Linked DNA regions of Homo sapiens: region 1 is linked to region 2. The links are contacts of gene promoters, found by promoter capture Hi-C in blood cells and fetal thymus (Javierre and others, 2016). All regions are on one chromosome and are shown on one strand. Each heading gives the region's core, a stretch centred on a gene start or on the middle of the fragment in contact. The rest is flanking DNA. Distances are from core to core; before and after follow the strand shown. Region 1 overlaps BORCS5 (BLOC-1 related complex subunit 5). Region 2 holds the start of GPR19 (G protein-coupled receptor 19).

The links. The method cuts DNA at HindIII sites, captures the fragments that hold promoters and counts their contacts. A CHiCAGO score of 5 or more calls a contact.
Region 1: a fragment that was not itself captured here is called in contact with the fragment with the promoter of GPR19 in region 2 in 6 of 17 cell types (total CD8 T cells, non-activated CD4 T cells, total CD4 T cells and 3 more); the score reaches 11.7 in total CD8 T cells.

The regions. Positions count from the first base shown.
Region 1 is chr12:12,429,674-12,434,896 of GRCh38, reverse strand. The region is part of intron 2 of BORCS5 (BLOC-1 related complex subunit 5); the gene reads right to left. Among named protein-coding and RNA genes, the nearest start is that of BORCS5, 75 kb to the right of the region's middle. RefSeq lists a silencer at 2,188-2,482. The HindIII fragment of the contact is 1,524 bases long and covers 594-2,117 here.
Region 2 is chr12:12,691,522-12,697,432 of GRCh38, reverse strand. It overlaps GPR19 (G protein-coupled receptor 19), which reads left to right and starts at 1,250. Exons shown (of 4, transcript NM_006143.3): 1 at 1,250-1,368; 2 at 1,922-1,974. RefSeq lists enhancers at 1,083-1,162, 1,343-1,502. The HindIII fragment of the contact is 8,608 bases long and covers 1-5,911 here.

The DNA of each region.
Region 1 (5,223 bases), core at 106-2,605, 260 kb after region 2:
ATTAAGCCTATTGCTTTCTGCCAAATCAACAGTTCTCAATTATCAGAACCTCTACACTCTCAAAAATTACCAAGGACCCCAAAGAGCTTTTATGTGAGTTTTATCTTTTGATATTCACCTATAAAAATTAAAACTGAGAACATTCTTAAATATTAAATCATTTAAATATAATGATAACCCCTTTATACATTAACAAAAATAACATTTTAAGGAAAATATTCTTCCAAACCAAAAAAGTGAAATGATGCCACTGGTTTATTTTTATTAATGTCTTTTTAATGTCTGCCTTAATAGAAAACAGCTGGAATATCATAGCTGCTTCTGCATTTAATCTGTTGCTATTTCACATCATTTAGCCTCTGGAAAACTCCACTGGACACTTCTGTAAGAGAATGAGCATGTTTTGCAAATAATGTCTAAGTATTATTACAAACATAGTTTTGACCTCAGAGATTCCCTAGCAGGGTCTTGGGGATCCCAGTGATCGCCCTACCACATGCCAGACCATTCTGTCTCACAGCAGAGCCAATGCTACAGCACAAGGAACACAGAATACATATGACAGTAGGTCACGTGCAGGGCACAGCAAAGCTTTTTTTTTTTTTTTTTTTTTTTGAGACAGAGTCTTGCTCTGTTGCCCATCTGGAGTGCAGTGGCGTGATCTTAGCTCACTGCAACCTCGACCTCCTGGACCCAAGCAATCTTCCTACCTCAGCCTCCAGAGTAGCTGAGGCCACAGGCACTTGTTACCACAGCCAGCTAGTTTTTGTATTTTTAGTAGAGACAGGGTTTTGCTGCCCAGGTTGGTCTCGAACTTCTGGGCTCAAGCGATCCTCCCGCCTCAGTGTAAGCCACCTCACCTGGCCAAAGCTCATCTTGGGAACCCTTCCTCACCGACCCCAACCACCAATGTCCACCCCTCACTGTCCCCAACCACCAACATCCACACCACACTGTTCTGATATATTAGAGCTGAAGCCAGTATTCTCTCCCTCCAGACAGGCTGTATGAAGGGCTACCCAGCTAGGTTGTCCCAGAGAATCCTGGGAAATGCTGGTCGATGCTCTCAGATCTTCTGAGACAGAGCAGCATACAGGGCTGGAACCCGAGGCACTGCTAGGCTCCTCCACATTCCACTGCTCAGCTGCTGCACTACAAGTCCTAACACAGGAGAGCACCAGTTACTTGACCTGAACCTGCTTCCAGGCAGTATGTTTTGGTGAATCCAGTATTAGCAGAAATTGGGAATTTTTTAATTGAAATTTTTATTGAGATCCTATGTATAGGATCCCGTGTCCCCTTTACCCAATTTCCCTCAATGGAAACATCTTGTAAAACTATGGTACAATATCACAACCAGGATATTGACATAGATATAATCTGACCTTATTCAGATCCTACCCATCCCTCCCTTTTTTGGTTTAGAGATGGTATCTCCCTCTGTTGCTGAGGCTGGCCTCAAACTCCTAAGCTCAAGAGATCCTCCCACCTTGGCTTCCCAAGTAGCTGGGACTACAGGAGTATGCCGCTGCACCCGGGCAGATTTCCTTTTTTTTTTTTTTTTTTTTTTTTTTGAGACACAGTCTCGCTCTGTCTTCCAGGCTGGAGCACAGTGGAATGATCTCCTCAGCTCACTGAAACCTTGTTCAAGCAATTGAACAAGGCCCCTGAGTAGCTGGGATTACAGGCATGTGCCACCATTCCTGCCTAATTTTTGCATTTTTTAGTAGAGACAGGGTTTCACCATGTTGGCCAGGCTGATCTCAAACTCTTGACCTAAGGTGATCCAGCTGCCTCAGCCTTCCAAAGTGCTGGGATTACAGGCATGAGCCACTGTGCCCAGCCCAGATTTCCTCATTTTATTTGCACTGATTTGTGTCTGTATTTAGTTTTTTTTCCTATACACAAGTTCATGTATTCATCACCATGGTCAGATGCTGAAAAGTTCCATCACCACAAAGAGTTCTTGTGCTGCTTTTGTAACTATACCTACCCCACTCTTTCTCTCATCCCCCTTTCCATCTTTAAAACACTGGCAACCATTAATCCATTCAACATTTCTAAAATTTTGTCCTTTCAAAAGTGTTATATAAATGAAATAATACATGATGTAAGCTTTTAGGATTGAATCTTTTTAGTTGCCCAACATAAAACTTTAGAGATGTGTCTATGTTGTTGATATATCAATGGTTAATTCTTTTTTTATTTCTGAGTAGTATTCCATGGTATATATGTATCAGAGTTTGTTAAACCATTCACCCATTGGAGGACATTTGGACTGTTTCCAGTTTGGGGCTATTACAAACAAGTCTGCTGTGAGCAGTCATGTACAGGTTTTTGTGTAAACATAAGTTTTCATTTCTCTGGGATAAATGCCCAAGAATGCAATTGCTGGGTCATATGGTAATTGCATGTTTAGTTTTATAAGAAACTGTCAGTTTCCCAGAGTGCCTGTACCAAGAAAATGGGAATGCTACAGACCACTAAAATCTCCTAACAAAACTATCAAGGGCTACCCTATCACTGACAAGAAATACATTTCCAGGAACGCAAACTTGGGAGAAGATACCAAAAGCATTTTGCTGTCAATCCGAAATTGAAAGAGGAAAAGAGGAAGGAGGCACCATGGAAAAAGGAATGAACGATTTTGTGCCATTAACAGTGGACCAGGATAATGCAAAAGCCATAAAGGAAACACTGATAAATTCAACAATACAAAAACCAAGACTCCTCATGACAACAAACACAAGTTAAAATTTAAAATACAAAAAGAATACCCAAAATCTGAGGAAAATAAAAAACCTGCAGAGACCCCAGGAAGCCTTTTTCCTCCTATTGTGATAACTCATATCACATAGGGTAAACTTCCTAATATATAAAGAGTGCCTAGAAATTGCAAATAAGGCTGGGCACAGTGGCTCATGCCTATAATTCCAGCACTTTGGGAGGCTGAGGCGGGCAGATCACCTGAGGTCAGGAGTTCAAGACCAGCCTGGCTAACACGGTGAAACCCCATCTCTACTAAAAATACAAAAAGTAGGTGGGTGTGGTGGCATGCACCTGTAGTCCCAGCTACTTGAGAGGCTGAGGCAGAAGAATCTCTCGAACCCGGGAGGCAAAGGCTGAAGTGAGCCAAGATCCAACTCCATCTCTAAAAAAACAAGAAAAGAAATTGGCAAATTAAAAACTAGCAAAAGGGCCAGGCGCAGTGGCTCACGCCTGTAATCCCAGCACTTTGGGAAGCCGAGGCGGGCAGATCACGAGGTCAAGAGATCAAGACCATCCTGGCCAACATGGTGAAACCCCGTCTCTACTAAAAATACAAAAATTAGTTGGGCATGGTGGCAGGCACCTGTATTCCCAGCTACTCAGGAGGCTGAGGCAGGAGAATCGCTTGAACCCGGAGGCGGAGCTTGCAGTGAGCCGCGATCATGCCACCACACTCCAGCCTGCCGACAGAGCAAGACTCCGTCTCAAAAAAAAAAAAAAAAAAGAATTAGCAAAAGAAAGATGAACAAAAGTTATGAAAAGATATTTCACAGAAAAGGAAATACCAATACCTCAACTATAAGAAAAGATGCACAACCTCACTTATAATAAGAAAAACAAATTGAAACTTTACCACAAGCCCATTTTTCACCTGTCAAATTGGTAAAAACGAAAAGCATGAAAAATACTTTGTAGGTGGAGCTGTGAGGAAAGAGGTTTTGCTGCTTAGTGTGTAAGTTGTTAACACCCTATGGAGGAGGGCAATTTGGCATGGATAACAAAATTACAAATGCATAGCCTCTGATGCAACAGCTTCACCACTAGGAATTTACACACACAGTAGCACACAAGCTAAATGATGTATATACAAGAGTATTCATTGCAGCAGTGACTGTAACAGCAAAGGTCAGCAAACACCACAATGTCCCTGAATAGAGGGCCTGTTAATTAAATCAGGGTATATCTATAAATAGTATTACATGAACAAAGAAAAGAATGAGGGCGCTCTCTATGTACTTACATGGAAAAAAACCTCCATAAGATAAAATTTTTAAAAGGTATATAGATGCATAGAGTGTGCTATCATTGCATAAAAATGGGGGTTGGGGTGCAAGTAAACAAGAGTATATGTTCAGATTTACTTATATTTACATAAATAAACTCTGAAATGATATATAAGAATTAGATGGAGGCAAGGGGTAAAGAGGGGGAATTTCATAGTATACTTTTAACAGAACTTTTTTTAACCAAATGAATGCATTTCCCCCTTAAATATTTTTTAAATAAATAAACTCATTTTAACAAAAAGCTGAGGTTTTTCCTCATCTATGAGTAAGAACTTCAGGGCAGTTCTCCCTTCTTCACCCATCCCAAGTGCCCCCTACTCCATAAGTAAAAACCTCATCTTTAATTCTCACCAAAGTTCATATGGCCGAACACATCTTAAAACATTTTATCGGCCAGGCACAGTGGCTCACGCCTGTAATCCCAGCACTTTGGGAGGCCAAGGCAGGCGAATCACGAGGTCAGGAGATCGAGACCACCCTGGCTAACATGGTGAAACCCCGTCTCTACTAAAAATATAAAAAAATTAGCCAGGCGTGGTGGCAGGCGCCTGTAGTCCCAGCTACTCGGGAGGCTGAGGCAGGAGAATGGCGTGAACCCAGGAGGCAGAGCTTGCAGTGAGCCGAGATCTTGCCACTGCACTCCAGCCTGGGTGACAGAGCAAGACTCTGTCTCAAAAAAAAAAAAAAAAATTTTCTCTAAGGTGATTAAAGTGGTATAACAAATGGTGAGCTGGTTGAAGACAGGGACCACGTTTTGCTTATCTTTTTATCTCATGTCTAGTAGAGCACCTAGTACATAAAAGGTTCTTGATTAGGGTACGAGTATGCAGTTCTATTGCTGGAATTCCAAGGAAAGCATAAGTCTAGGAAGATATTAGGAGGAAAAAGGCTTCCCAGGATCTCTGTAGGCTGCATATATGCCTAAGAGCGAGTCCTTGTCTCAGTCTGAATCTGCTCTTCTAAGGTGCATGAGGAAGCTCTCCGGTGCTTCAGAAGACTATTGGGAGCCTGAATCGCAGAATGAAGTGGAGGAAGGCTACAGGGCCAGCCCAAGCTGCCAGGTGGCTGAAGCAGAGGGCCCAGAACCCAACCTTAGCTCACAAAACAAAACTCTCACTTCTACCTCTTGAGAAAAAGGTGGAGGGTGAGGGAAACGAGGGAAGTAGGA
Region 2 (5,911 bases), core at 1-2,500:
TAGAAATCCTTCCATAAAAATACTTTTTAAAAAGTCACTTTGCCTGCCTTTTTTTTTGTTTTCAAACGAATCCAGTCATATCTGTAAAACAAGTTTCCATCAGATCTCATTTTATAAGCAACATCCTCTTCTAAGCCACCTGAAACTGACTTTGAAGAGCTCTTCAAACCATTTCAAAAATTTGTTTGTTGGCTTGTGCTTTCTTGGGTTAATGCTTCTAGAGTCGTCTCCAAGTTTCAAATTTTGCATGGCTGCTTTTTTTTTTTTTTTTTTTTTTTTACTTCGCTTCAAGAGTCAGTCTTAAATCATGTAGGTTTTGCTTGAGGTTTGCTCGAGCAAGAGGACCTTAGGTTTGGTCTTATTTGCATTTTTACCATAACTAGGCCTACATTCTAAATAAGTAACTAAATGCCACCTATGAGTTTCATTAACTGTGGCTGCTTGCCACTTTTTAGTTCTGGTTAGGGTGGTGCTATTGTTTTCCTCAGGTTCATTAGAAACATCTTCCGTGACAGCTCTGACGCGGCACCGATTTCTGAGTGTCCAGTGTTTTCCCTACCATTATTTTCTTTGGTCTGAAGTTGACACTTAAACTGTCCAGTTTTAAACCTCCGATCCGTGTTCCCAAATGAAAACATGACTTTCATTACGAATTACACGTCAAGGGAGCAAACCAAGGCGCTCGGGGCGGCGAGAACCGCGACACAGCGCTTCGCCTGGACTGGTAAACAAACCGCCGCGCAGGCGCAATGGCAACAGGACGGTAACCTGGGTAGCCGCCAATGGGCTTTTTCGTAGAGTGAAAAGCGGAAAAGCCAAACAAAACGCTGGTTCCAAGGTGATAAACTGGCTGACTTCCTCTATTTTTACTTTTTTAAAAAATTTTGTTTCTGAAGAAGTAGTTGTGCGGCCTTCTGGGCCTCGCAGAGATCTTCTTCGTGGAATTCCTCGGCCCCAGAGAAATGCCGCTAGCCTGTCGGCTAGTTATATTAGCCTAATTTTTTGTCTTGATCTTTTTCATTTGACTGCAGCACTAATCCTAATCCACTGGGGCAGCAAAAAAAAAAAAAAAAAAAAAAAAAAAAAAAAAAAAGGGCGGGTGGGATCTCAACGCCACGGAAAACCTTCATACTAGCCGGCCATCACCAAACCACGCGAGATCTGCCTGAGGAGAAGCGCCACCCCGGGAGTGCACGTTTGCGCATGCGTCTGGCTCATCATTTTTAGCGCGCAAAAGTTTCAAAACTTTCCGCCTAGTGAGAGGCGGTCCGATTTGGCCCTTGGGGAGTGTCCGTCGCGTTGATCTGATGGATTCACGTACACAACACCACATTCTATGAGATTTTGCAGGCAAAAGTCCACAAGCTCGTATGGTCATCCCTTCTTTCCGTTTTTATATTGGCCGTGAACTCTGTGAGGGGAGGTTTCAGCGACTGAAGTAGTAAAGGAGTGGGAGCGGGAGAGCCGATTAATGAGGTTGTAGAATAAGAGAGAAATCTGAAGGGACAAAGGAGTTTTATTTATTTTTTGGCTGGTGACCAAGAGGATGTGAGTGTGAGCTAAGGTAATACAGTGGGAAGGAGAAGATGGGAAGATTTGAGAGATAAATGAAGGCAGTAGCTCTGTAGCCTACCTGGGAGGCCAGACTAGAAAGAAGTTGACAGTAGAGGACATTTTTCTTAAAAGAGTGTGAACTTATGCATGTTTGTAAACAGGCAGAAATGGCATGCATTTAGTACATGGTGTATATAAGGTGGAAATCGGGACGCCCCTAATGGAATGGAATGAGGAAGATTCTAAAAGCCACAGTCCTGAACACAGGCCGAGGTGGAATTGCGAAGAACAGTCGCGGTAACAGAAGTCAGGAATTTGGGAACTGTCTCGAGGGATCTGACCAATCTGACCTCTTTTTGTCTCTCAGGATATATGGGACACCTGCACCGGCATTGGATTTGGCCCCGCAACATCTTAAAGGTACCACCCAACACCTGAAGTGTCTGCCTCCTTCCGATGGAGCCTCCTGGCCCCTCCCACCTCTCACCAGCTTTACCCTTTAGCCAGAATGAAATGTGGATTTCATGGAATGAAATGGTGGCATTTAGCTACCACATTACTCAGATGTGTCACTGACACCTTACAGAAGTACATACTTCTAGCCTCTAGCCTCCCAGTTCACTAGATATTAGAGTCCATCTTGATATCGGCAGCAATTCTATGCCACTTAGCTACTATAATTTGATTCTTTGTATACTATCTGGAGTACAAGGCAGAAGAATGCTGATGGAATACGTAATTTTACTCCAACAAAGGAATGGCTGATAGGTAAAGAGTATCACTTCATCTGTAAGAAAAACTAAATATGGAAAGCCACAGGATTGAAGCTAGCAGTGATGGAGAAGGATCCCAGTGTGAATATATAGAATGGAAGTACTTCAGTAAAGAGCCAGGCATGGTAATCACTTACCAAGAAAGTGACTTCATTTCATTTTGGCAGCCTAAAGTATATCCTGGCAGCTGCGCTGTATGTGTGAAGTGCATAGGAAAATGCTGCAGGAAAAATCCATGGAGGCAATGGAATAGGATTTCAGGGTTGAAGCCTGGGTGTCTTGTTTTAGGGAGTGGGATCATCCAGCTCTGAGAGGCATGACATCTCGATATGATGTCATATAAAGTGTGTACAATTGGGAATCAGACCTGGGCTTTGACTTTAGGGTCTGCCAGTCACTCTGTGTGTCCTGTCTGAATCTCAGTTTCTCAATTTATAAAATAAGGATAATAGTGCCTGTGCCATAGGATTATTGTAATGACAAAATGAGGTAGCATAGAACTTAGTGTAAAGTACATGCCACCTATCAGTTGAATTGTGGATGCTCTGTGCATCGTAGGTCCGTCTGTATTTAGGGAGCTTTAAGACAGGTACTCTACCGGGTCAGGCGCGGTAGCTCACGCCTGTAATCTCAGCACTTTGGGAGGCTGAGGCGGTCGGATCACAACGTCAGGAGATCGAGACCATCCTGGCAAATACGGTGAAACCCCGTCTCTACTAAAAAAAAAAAAATACAAAAAATTAGCCGGGCGTGGTGGTGGGCACCTGTAGACCCAGCTACTCCAGAGGCTGAGGCAGGAGAATGGCGTGAACCCGGGAGGCAGAGCTTGCAGTGAACCGAGATCACGCCACTGCACTCCAGCCTGGGCGACAGAGCGAGACTCCGTCTCAAAAAAAAAAAAAAAAAAAAAAAAAAAAGACAGGTACTCTACCATGCCCACACATTAGAATCACCTTGGGAGCTTAAAAAAATCCTAATGCCCTGGCTTTTCTCTATACCAATTAAATCAGAATCTCTGCGAGTGGAGCCCAGACATCAGTACTTTCTTAAAACCCTCCATTTTGCAACAAAGGTTGAGAGCCACTGCTTTAAGAGTTCCCTCTAGGGCCAGGCACGGTGGCTCACGTCTGTAATCCCAGCACTTTGGGAGGCGGAGGCGGGGGGATCACGAGGTCAGGAGCTTGAGACCAGCCTGGCCAACATGGTGAAACCCCATCTCTACTAAAAATACAAAAATTAGCTGGGTGTGGTGGCACGCGCTTGTAATCCCAACTACTCCGGAGGCTGAGGCAGGAGAATTGCTTAAACCCAGGAGGCAGAGGTTGCGGTCAGCCGAGATCGTGCCACTGCACTCCAGCCTAGGTGATAGAGCAAGACTCCGTTTTGGAAAACACGTTTGGAGGAATGAAGTTTAGAGCTTGAGACAGGCAGATAAGTAGGGCATCATGAGCTCTATTCAGGAGGAAGGCCACTGTGATAAGAATGGGGTTAACGTACTAATTTGGGAAAGGTCATTGATAAAGCCATTAGTATAATTGCCAGGATACACAGGCTTAGCTGTAGAGATAGAAGAGTGTCAGTCTCCCAAGCTGGTCTTTTGATCTAGCACAGGCAACACAGATAATGATGTCTTTATTGCATTACACATGGTGAATCTTGGGCCATCAGCAGGGCTGATGGCAGTAGTGGGTTGGGGCGGATCTTTACAACCTGCAATACCTCATTGGTTGGGGAGGGCATCAAGGCATGATTGAAATGTGTGTTCTTTTCCAATGAGAGGCTGCTGTACATGGGAATGCATGTGCAGCAGGGCATTGATAATGAAGTGTTTTCCGGTAGCCTATCAGGGTTGATGTGGCAGCTCTGACCACACAAGTGGTTTTGTTATTATTAACAGATGAGAAAGGTGAGGTTCAAGCCTGTCTTTGTAGCCTTTCAGGGAACACAGAATCACTTGGAATACAAGTGGCATGGTCAGCAATTTCAGCTTCTAAGAGACAAGTTACTTGCTAGTAGGACAATTCTGGTTTCTAGGTTTATAAATAACTCAGAAGTTGAAATCACCATACTACTTTAGTTATTGAATATAAGACAAAAAAGGTAGTGATAATGGCCAAGAATATCTTTTGCCACATGAAGTTACCTGTCTTTAATTGGGTTCCTTTTCTTGAAAAGCAGGCACACATGAGTGACAGAGAATCTTCCTGGGACCGATAGGAATGCTAGACAGATTGGTCTCTGTCTTTAAAGGTTTTTATGGGTTAGAGTGAGCCAGGACTAGAGCCAAAGACAAGTAATGCTTCAGTTTCTTAAGGGCTTTTTCAGCTGCTGGAGGCCAGTAGTACTTTTGCTCAGAAAGCAAAGGAGAAAGGGGCTTAAGCCCAGTTGGAGAAAAAAAAAAACAAAAAAAACAACTATAATTAGGTCTTTTGTGCTTTGTGGATATCAAATACCTGTTGGACCTTTTTCAGAAACTTTCATATTGTACCAGTATGGGGTTCTGGTTCTATAAATGAGGGTATCCAGTCCGTCTTTCTTTCTGCCTCTTTTTGGGGTACAAGAAATTAAATTTGAGTCAGGCGCAGTAGCTCACGCCTGTAATCCTAGCACTTTGGGAGACCAAAGCAGAAGGATCGCTTAAGCCCAGGAGTTCAAGACCGGTCTGGGCAACATGGCAAAACCCCGCCATTAACCTGGCTAATATTACAAAAAAAAAGACAAGAGAAGCCAGCAGCGAGTCATCACTGGACCTGACCAAGATGACCACTCAAAGAGAGGAATAGACTTCAGCAGGGAAAAGCTAAAGGTCTTTCTGGAGTTAGATAAGTGGCCAGCTGGTCAAAGGAGCTATAGTTGAAAAATTCATAGAAGTAGAGTTTTGTCCCCCTAAACCCACGTAAGTGCCCATTGAGATAAGGAATCAGTCTTTAATACCTGTGAGGTACAGGGAAACTGATGGCAGCTCATGTTAGTACCAACAAAGTAAGACGTATTGCTCATCCTCCTCTCAAACCCTGGAGGGATCAGAAACTAGGAGGGGCAAGATCTAAGGAAACAAGTCAGGAAAAAAGAGAAGTGGCCACACTGTTTTGTTAAATCTACTACAGAAGGCACAAACTGGGAGGAGGGAGAAATGCCTAAACTAAGTCAGGTGCCAACTTTTGATTGTTATATAGGACTGGATATTTTAGTTATTAACATCTCTTAACTAAAAATGACCAGAAAAAGTAATGGGACCACCCAAGTTTTAATTCAGGGATAAGAGAAGAACCAGCCTTGCAACCAGACACCCTTGAAGGGTGTTTTCAAAGGGACAGTGGAAAATGAAAATTAGGTGGTTTTAGGTTAATCTCAAAAGTCATGCTTATTCAGTGTGCTGGTACACTGTCGCTGAGCACCTACTTTGCTGTTTTAGATCCTAGAGGTATAAAGATGAATTGGATGACATCCACCTTACAAGAATCTATGAAGTCAATGCAATATGACATATGCAATCGTATAAGTAGTATATATGAAAATTAAAGTACTATGGTGAAAAGGAAAATGTGACTAACTTATTTTGGAAGGATACAGAGTGGGAGAGA